Linked DNA regions of Homo sapiens: region 2 is linked to region 1. The links are contacts of gene promoters, found by promoter capture Hi-C in blood cells and fetal thymus (Javierre and others, 2016). All regions are on one chromosome and are shown on one strand. The core of a region is centred on a gene start or on the middle of the fragment in contact, and the rest is flanking DNA. Distances in the headings are between cores, read along the strand shown.

Region 1 (4,228 bases), core at 1,222-3,721:
TGTCAGCTCTCAAAAAGTTTTGAATTTTGGAGCATTTTAGATTTTGGATTTTGGGATCAGGGATGCTCAGCCTATACAGCCTATACCAAGATATCTGGCTTAGGAAACTAGTTAGATGGTAGCTATGCTCTAAGACTGAGAGAGAACACAGTAGGCAAAGCTCAAGGAGAAAAAGAAGCAAAGAAAGAATTGAGATGGGAAAAATAAGAATGATGTGATGAAAGACGCAGGATAAGGAAGTTTCTTGAAGCAGAGGCAGCTAACAGTGTTAATCTAGTGCAATGGCCAAGTAGGCTGGAAAATGAAAACAATTTATTGAATTTGGCAACTATATTAGCTTATCACATAGCTTGGTTAGAGCATTTTCAGCAAAGTGATCAGAGAAGCCAGACCTGAGTAGATTGAAAGTTAAGTGGTGATATTGTCAGGAAATTCAGTGGAGAAGGAAAGGAGAGGCATACAGTGGTAGCTTAAAGAAAAGAGAAAGTCAAGGTCATGATGCTTGAGTATATTTTTAGACTGAGAGGACAAATCCAGTAGAAAAGGAGATTTTGAAGCTGCTGCAGCAAACTGATAGCTTTGAAGGGGAGGAGAAATAGAAAGGACAGCTGCTGCTTTCAGTGATTCAGAAGTGGAAAAGGGGGGTTTGAGAGAATTCTTGTCTTTTGACCTTGCTTTCTTTTATGACGTAGAAAACTTGGCTGAGAGAAGCAGACATCCCATAGAGAATTCAGAAAAAGTGTCAAGGGTTTGAAAAACCAATTAGAGAGAGGTAAAACAAACTGACTAGGAAAAAATGCAAGTTTTGTTGAGTAGTTTAGAAGGCCCAGTCAAGTTCCCAATCACCGAAAAAGCATATCCAAAAGGTCCAAGTCTTAGCTTTAACACTTAGAAGTTGGGTGACTTTGGCCGGGCACGGTGGCTCACACCTGTAATCCCAGCACTTTGGGAGGCCATGGCAGGTGGATCACCTGAGGTCAAGAGTTCAAGACCAGCCTGGCCAACATGGTGAAACCCCGTCTCTACTAAAAATACAAAAAATTAGCCGGGTGTGGTGGTGGGTGCCTGTAATCCCAGCTACTTGGGAGGCTGAGGCAGGAGAATCACTTGAACCTGGGAGGCAGAGGTTGCAGAGAGCCGAGATCGCACCATTTCACTCCAGCCTGGGCAATAGGAATGAAACTCCGTCTCAGAAAAAAAAAAAAAAAGAAAAGAAAAGAAAAGAATTTGGGTAACTTGGGCAAATGATTTATCTTCAGCTCCCATTTTTTCCACAAATAAAATGAACATAATGACATTGATTAACATGACTATAAATTATTAAATACTATTCAATTAATACCAGCTTGGGTTTGAACACCCAAAGTCAAGATTTTCACTTACAAATTACTATGCAGCCTGGCACACTCAGAGGCTGGCTATACTATCCCTTTAGCAATTATATGGGCTCTGCTCCTTTCATTGCAACAGCAGGGTTTGTTCTGTTAGTCTTTCACTCTGCCATGTAGCTTTATTTTTCACAGCTGTCCTCAATACGCCAAAGCTGTACACTACACCACTCCCCTTGAATCTTGTCTATGCACTGGCATCTCTGCTGCAAATCCTCCTGTAAGACCACTGTCCACCATATTCTCCTTAGCTTGCATCCTCAAGATCATTCCTGCCTAGAGATATGGAGAGTGGCCAAGACAATGGAATCATGGTGAGGCAGGAAGCTGCACTTCTTATGAAAGTCTTTATGGTCTCATGATATCTTTAGGCTAAGAAAAAGCAGTGCTATACATTACTGAGCATCCCAGGTCAACCAGTGAGCCATCAAATGGCAGCGTCTACAGAAGAACACTGGACGTCATTTAATCCAATCCCATAGTTTTACAATTGAAGCAACTTCGGTTCAGAGAAGTAAAAAAAAAAAACAAAAACAAAAACAAAACAAAACAAAAGCTTCCTCATGTCCGCTTTGTTATTTAGGGACAGAGAAAGAACAAGAACTGAGGTCTTCATCCCCTTTCAGCACCCATTCTTTCACATTAAGCTCTGATGCTTCTCTCTGATGGCTTAAAACATTTTCCAGTTCTAACCAACAGACCCAATTGGACTATCGTGTAATCACTGATCTTACCTTCTTTATGGATAAATAAGCCTGCTCTTTCATCTCTTTTCTGGGCTGCTGTTTGTTCAACCAATTTTTCAAACCTGTTCAAAGCCTTTTTGAAATTGCTCATCTGAAGTGCCATGTTGAGACGCTTTTCCTTCCTGATATCCATAGGGACATAGGGGATCTTTTACTTCTGTACAGAAAGAATACTGCAAGTTTACCAATTTGGAAAACTTTCCAGTTGTTACAGTGCCTCCCTGCTGTCTCAGTTTTTGCCCTAGGTCTAATTCCTTTGATCTTAAAATCCCATAGTGCGGGTAGGAGTAAGAGTTGCCACTAGGATGTTAGCAGGGAGGAAAGCTGATTTAGGTCTGATGCATTTCATACAGACAAACATTTCAGTAAAAATCCTGACCTCACAATGTCATCAGTGTCCTTCATAGGGTCCTCATTGCATCATAATATCTCTGTAACATCCTACTTCCTTCATAAGGAGGAGATTGAGATATTTTTTTCCCCACAGACTGTGTGTGTGTGTGCGCGTGCACATGTGTGTGTTGTGTATACTGCTTGAGAGGGAAAAGGAATGAGTAAATAACAAGTAAGAAAACTGGGTAATACTTTCTCCCTCGTGTATCTCTTCTCACCTCAAACCTTTTGCCTTCCTCACAATACCGCGGAAAGTAAAGTTTGGCCAGGCACGGCGGCTCATTCTTGTAATCCCAGCACTTTGGGAGGCCGAGGTGGGTGGACCACCTGAGGTCAGGAGTTCAAGACCAGCCTGGCCAACATGGTGAAACCCCCGTCTCTACTAAAAATACAAAAATTAGCTGGATGTGGTGGCGGGCACCTGTGATCTCAGCTACTCAGGAGGCTGAGGCAAGAGAATCACTTGAACCTGGGAGTCAGAGGTTACAGTGAGTTGAGATCACACCACTGCACTCCAACCTGGGTGACAGAGTGAGACTTCCTCTCAAAAAAAAAAAAAAGTAATATTCACACTTATTCTTGCCACTGTACTGGATATGGAAATTCGAACTTCTAAAGATGAAATGTATTTCAGCACCTGTCATTTCTACCACAAACATTTTTAGAGGTCATAGGGAATACAAATGCTCTTCTTCCTTTGTGCATTGTCCTTCGATTGAAATAATAAAGTGAGCCAAGGATAAGGAAGGAGTGGCTTCTGATTATGAGGACAGCTTTTCAAGGTAAGAGGTCAGATGAATTAGAAGAGGCCTTTCTGCACATCTCCTTCCCAGTCATTGCAATCTCCAATCCGACTTAGTCCAAATGCTATTGACTCCGGTTTTCCAATTTTCAACTTTTTATGGGAAGGAGAAGTTGTTTAATGTTTCTCAACAATTAGTTAACTTCCTATGGCTTAGGTGAGTTAGATAAATTTCCTACCCCTTGGTAGTCCATCTTTTAAAACATTCTTCAAGAACTTGCATTCAGAGATGAAGCAGATGGCATTTCAGAGCACCTCCAATTCCAGTACTGTCTTCTTGGTGTCCACCTCTAACTATCTGTTAGGAGAGCGCAGTAAGATTTTATTTAAAGAAAAATCCCCCAACCCCATTTGTTTCTCCTCCTTTTTCCTTTAAAGCTTTCAAACCACTGTACAGTGATGTCTGGAGAACCACTCTTCCTACAATTCTAATGCATTCACCATTAATTCATCTAGGAAATATTTACTGAATACACACTTCATGCTAGAGGCTGTTTTAGACACTAAGGATACAGCAGTGAATAAAATAGCTTCTCAAGTTTATAGACTAATGCAGAAGACAGACAAACAAATAAATAATGTATCAGTGAGCAATTGTGCTACGAAGAGAGAGGAATTTTGTGTGTATTAGGGTGGGGGTAAAAATCAAAGTAAAAGAGGTAGGGAGATCAGGGAATTCCCCATTAATAGAAAGATTTCTGGGCAGAAACCTGAAAGAAGTGAGGTAGCAAGTCATGTGGATAAATGGTAGAAGGATGTTCTAGGGACAGCAGGCGTAAAGTCCTGAGATTGGTGTGTGCTTCACATATCTGAGAAACGACAGAGGCCAGTGTGACTGAGGTGGTGTGGGATGAGAGAGAGAGGTAGAGAGAGAAGGCAAGAGAGTCAGGGGGTGGCAT
Region 2 (4,135 bases), core at 1,577-4,076, 140 kb after region 1:
TGTTAAAGTGTGAAAAGAATTGAGAAATGCATAACATATTCTACGGGAGCCCAACCGGAGTATGAAAAATAGTCAATGCAGGATAGGCTAGTAAGCCTAGAAGTAGATAGGCTTCATCCTGTGAGATATTGTTTAACACTTATCTTATAAATATGCTTTTATTTTCAATAATTTTAAGTCATTCCTAAGCCTTCAAGACTGCCTCTTGACAGGTATATAGAACTTTACAACAGGCAGCTGAATCTTTGATGAGAATATCTTTGTCATTGCCATCTACAGCCTTCTTGGTGGTGAGGTAAACATAGTTTGACTACGTGGTTAGGTGAAAAAGGGTAGTGACCAATCCTAAAATAATCTCATATTATTCAACTCCAGAGACTAAGGAGGAGGTCAGCCCCAGCTAGTGTTGGTGGGAGTGAGCATGGCTGCCGTTTTCATTGATCTGTGTCACCAGCATGTTTTGTGGTTCTGGTGGGGCATGGTTCCTGCTGCTGCTGCTCCAGAGACAGCACAGCCATTGGGATTGCACACCTGTGAAAGGCAGACACCTGGGGTCTCGATTTTGTCATACTTTCTGAACTTTATTATGTGTAAAACAGTCTGTATGTACTCTAAACTGAGTAGTATGATTAAACTCAACCCTTTTTACTTGAGGTCCAGAGGAAAACAAAGCTAAAAAGATTATGAACATCTAATGTGAATAAATTAAGAATAAAGTGACCTGTCTTTTCTCTCTAGTGATACATTTTGCCATTTTATGGTGTTCGTTGAACCTCTTTCTGCTGTGAATGACCCTTTTTTATTTTTATGGTCCATAAACACTGGGGGTCATTCACTCCATTCAGATGGCCAGCGTTGATTGGCATTCACCTTTGCCCTTGGTAGTGGTTCAGCCCACTACCTCAGTGTTTGTTACTGTGGAGATTTAAATTCCCATTTGTTTTTGTGTTTAAAGTTTTTAAGTTTCTAATCCTGTGTGCCATCTGTCCTCATTTCGTTTGAGTCAAACGTTTCTAATGTTTTAATTTTAGTTACTTAAAATTGAAATTTCAAATTTTCTGGTTTTCCTTTTCTATTTGACCCTCAGCTTATACTTACTCTGGTCCAGGTTTATGTTTTTAATGTGTCTTATTTCTTACTTTTCTTGGCTTTTTCTACTTTGATTCCAGAGATAGCAGGTTCTCTCTTATACATTCATCATTCTCTTCCTTTCTTCCCTTTCTCCCTTCTACTCTTTCCCCATTCAAACCTGGTGTGGGATCTATACAACAATCTGTATTATTAATTTTGACAAGAACTCACAATTCACTTGTCTTATAAAAACTAGGTTTTCATTTCAGTTTATCCTTTTCAAGCTTGGTGAGGTGATTTGGGATAGACAATGAAAATATCTGCATTAATGGGGTTTTATATATATCGGAAGCTGTCACCTTTAGGTCTGGAGAATCTTGGGTTTAAAAAAATAATTCTTCTGAGAGAAATGTCCAGGGAGTTACTGAGTATTAAGGCTTTACTAGCTAAGTAGAATAGATTGCTTTTTGGCCTTGGGGTGAAATGATAACCCAGTCAGTCACTGGTAGTCTCATACTGATTGGCAGTTAAATATATCCCTTATTTATTTATTTTTTTAAGAGGGGAAGGAAACAATTATAATGTAACGTGGGATCCAGTAAGAGAAAATAATGGTTCTTGCTGGTGAAAAGATTGAGTACTAAATTTGTTTTTATTTATAGTATATGAAATAAACACATATAATTTATTGTGTGTATTTGTGCATAGGATTGTATTCGTGTGAATATGTGTGTATATGTATGTGGGAGACGTACACACATATATATATGAAGAGTCAATGTATTTGTTTTTATTTGGTTCCTTAAACAAATAGATCTATGATAATGTTGATTCTTGGTTCATGAATTCCTGTCTATAATCTTTCTCTATAACCGAAACATTTTAGAGCTATAGTGTTACTGTTTTATTGTTATTGTTTTATGTATAGCTTTTGCATCTGCCAAAATAATAAACTTCCATGCTTAAGTAAAATTGTAAATTTGAAATATTTTTCTGATTAATTTTAGACCCCAGTTATTAAAGCTTTTGGCATCTTGAAGCGAGCGGCCGCTGAAGTAAACCAGGATTATGGTCTTGATCCAAAGATTGCTAATGCAATAATGAAGGCAGCAGATGAGGTAGGAGGTGATAAGTGTGTTTGCTTAATAACCTCAGACCCATGCCATACTCTGGATGACGATATGCTCTGGCAGAAGGAAAGGGGAACTGTGAATTCTTGAATTAATGAATTTCAGGGGAGGGTGGTAGCATTATTTTTAGTGGTGATATTAATATGGTGCTTAAAACGTTACATTGTGACAAAATTTCTGGATGATTTTATACCTTTTGTTTTTAAGCCTTTTGACTTTCCTTAATTTATATAGTTTTAAGAAAATTTTTTGAAAAGATATCATTTGAACTTTACTTGATTTTTTATTTTATATATAAATCTTTTTAAAACCAGTTGATTATTTGATAATGCATATTGAGAATGTAATTTTACTAATATGCTAATAACATTGTCTTAAAGAAGCAATCAGAGGTAACAGAACTGTATATATAGTGTTGTTAATTACAGCACTATTTATAATAATGAAAACAAATTAGACAATGCGTAACTATAACAGCTACTTATATAAATTATATTTATATGGTAAATTATAGAAAATTACTTTTTTGAAGATTGGCATGCACAAAGCCTAGCCTATGAGAAATAGGGAGGAAAGTTTGCAAAAATATATGTATTTTACGATCCTAATTTTGTTTAGGAAAAAATGAACAGAAAGTGTGTGTTTCTCATATACACACACACACACACACACACACACACCCTCATTGCATGAGATAGAGACTGGGGATGCCAACATGCTAATAGTCATAATTACTGAGCAATAGAACTATAGTGACTGTTTTACTTTTCTCAGTTCTCAAAATTTTCTACACTAATCACATATTTTTATATAACCAGAAAAAAGTTTTATTTTAAAGTGGACCAGTTGTTCAAGGTAATAGATTTCTCAAGTGCATTCTGATTTTTTAAGCTAAAATCATTCCAGAAGATTGTTAACCACCCATATTTTACAAAGCACACCATCCAAAAACTAACACATAAGCTGGATGTATAAAAATACAACAAAAATAGGGGCAAATCTGGGCAGCGTTTATTTCTACATTTGGTGATTACTGCTCATTGGACATCTGTGCAATGAAGTAGCTATTAGTGAACTCACATTTTCAAGTTACTAGCTCATTAGCATGCTGACTCTGGCAATAACATCTGTTGGATATTCCTGCTGAGCACCAGCAACAAATATATCTAGAGACTAAACGTATTTGCCAGCCTTAACAGGTGGTCCTCTGTTAGAGGAGGCTGTGGGAGAGAGATAAGAAAGATACCTTTGATTCCCTTTTCATTTGAAACCAGTGAATTGTCATACCATTCACTATAGATAATATTTCACTTTTTAAAGTATCTGTGGTTGGAGCAAGTGATGCTTCAGAAGCTTAGATATGTGGGTCAACTGTATTCAAACTCTGTGGCATAATCAGCATTATTATTTCCTTTTTTAAAATACATTTTTAACATTTTTTCTGCAGGTAGCTGAAGGTAAATTAAATGATCATTTTCCTCTCGTGGTATGGCAGACTGGATCAGGAACTCAGACAAATATGAATGTAAATGAAGTCATTAGCAATAGAGCAATTGAAATGTTAGGAGGTGAACTTGGCAGCAAGATACCTGTGCATCCCAACGATCATGTTAATAAAAGCCAGGTCAGTATGTGAGCTTTGCTGTTTTTTGGTTATAAATTGAAAAGCATACCTGAGATTGTTCTTGTAAAACAAGCATTCACTTTTTGACAAGAAGTGTTCATTATTTAATGGATAAGGCTTCTTATGGTTCTTATTTCTTGAAGGAATCTTGGTTTTATGTTTCAATCCTTATAAAAATTATTTTTAGGACACCTGAATTTAGTGTATGTATTTTTTTATTGTTTAAAACTCTATTTTGAAATAATTTTAGATTTATAAGAGAATTGCAAAGATAGTTCAAATAGTTTCTATATCCCTTCACTCAGCTTCC

What was found. The method cuts DNA at HindIII sites, captures the fragments that hold promoters and counts their contacts. A CHiCAGO score of 5 or more calls a contact.
Region 2: a fragment that was not itself captured here is called in contact with the fragment with the promoter of WDR64 in region 1 in 4 of 17 cell types (monocytes, activated CD4 T cells, naive CD4 T cells and 1 more); the score reaches 6.5 in monocytes.

What each region holds. Positions count from the first base shown.
Region 1 is chr1:241,650,524-241,654,751 of GRCh38, reverse strand. WDR64 (WD repeat domain 64) reads right to left here and starts at 2,471. Exons shown (of 28, transcript NM_001367482.1): 1 at 2,123-2,471. The coding sequence starts at 2,267. The HindIII fragment of the contact is 1,763 bases long and covers 1,947-3,709 here.
Region 2 is chr1:241,511,657-241,515,791 of GRCh38, reverse strand. FH (fumarate hydratase) reads left to right here. Exons shown (of 10, transcript NM_000143.4): 3 at 2,079-2,189; 4 at 3,649-3,825. Among named protein-coding and RNA genes, the nearest start is that of FH, 6.0 kb to the left of the region's middle. The HindIII fragment of the contact is 1,460 bases long and covers 2,097-3,556 here.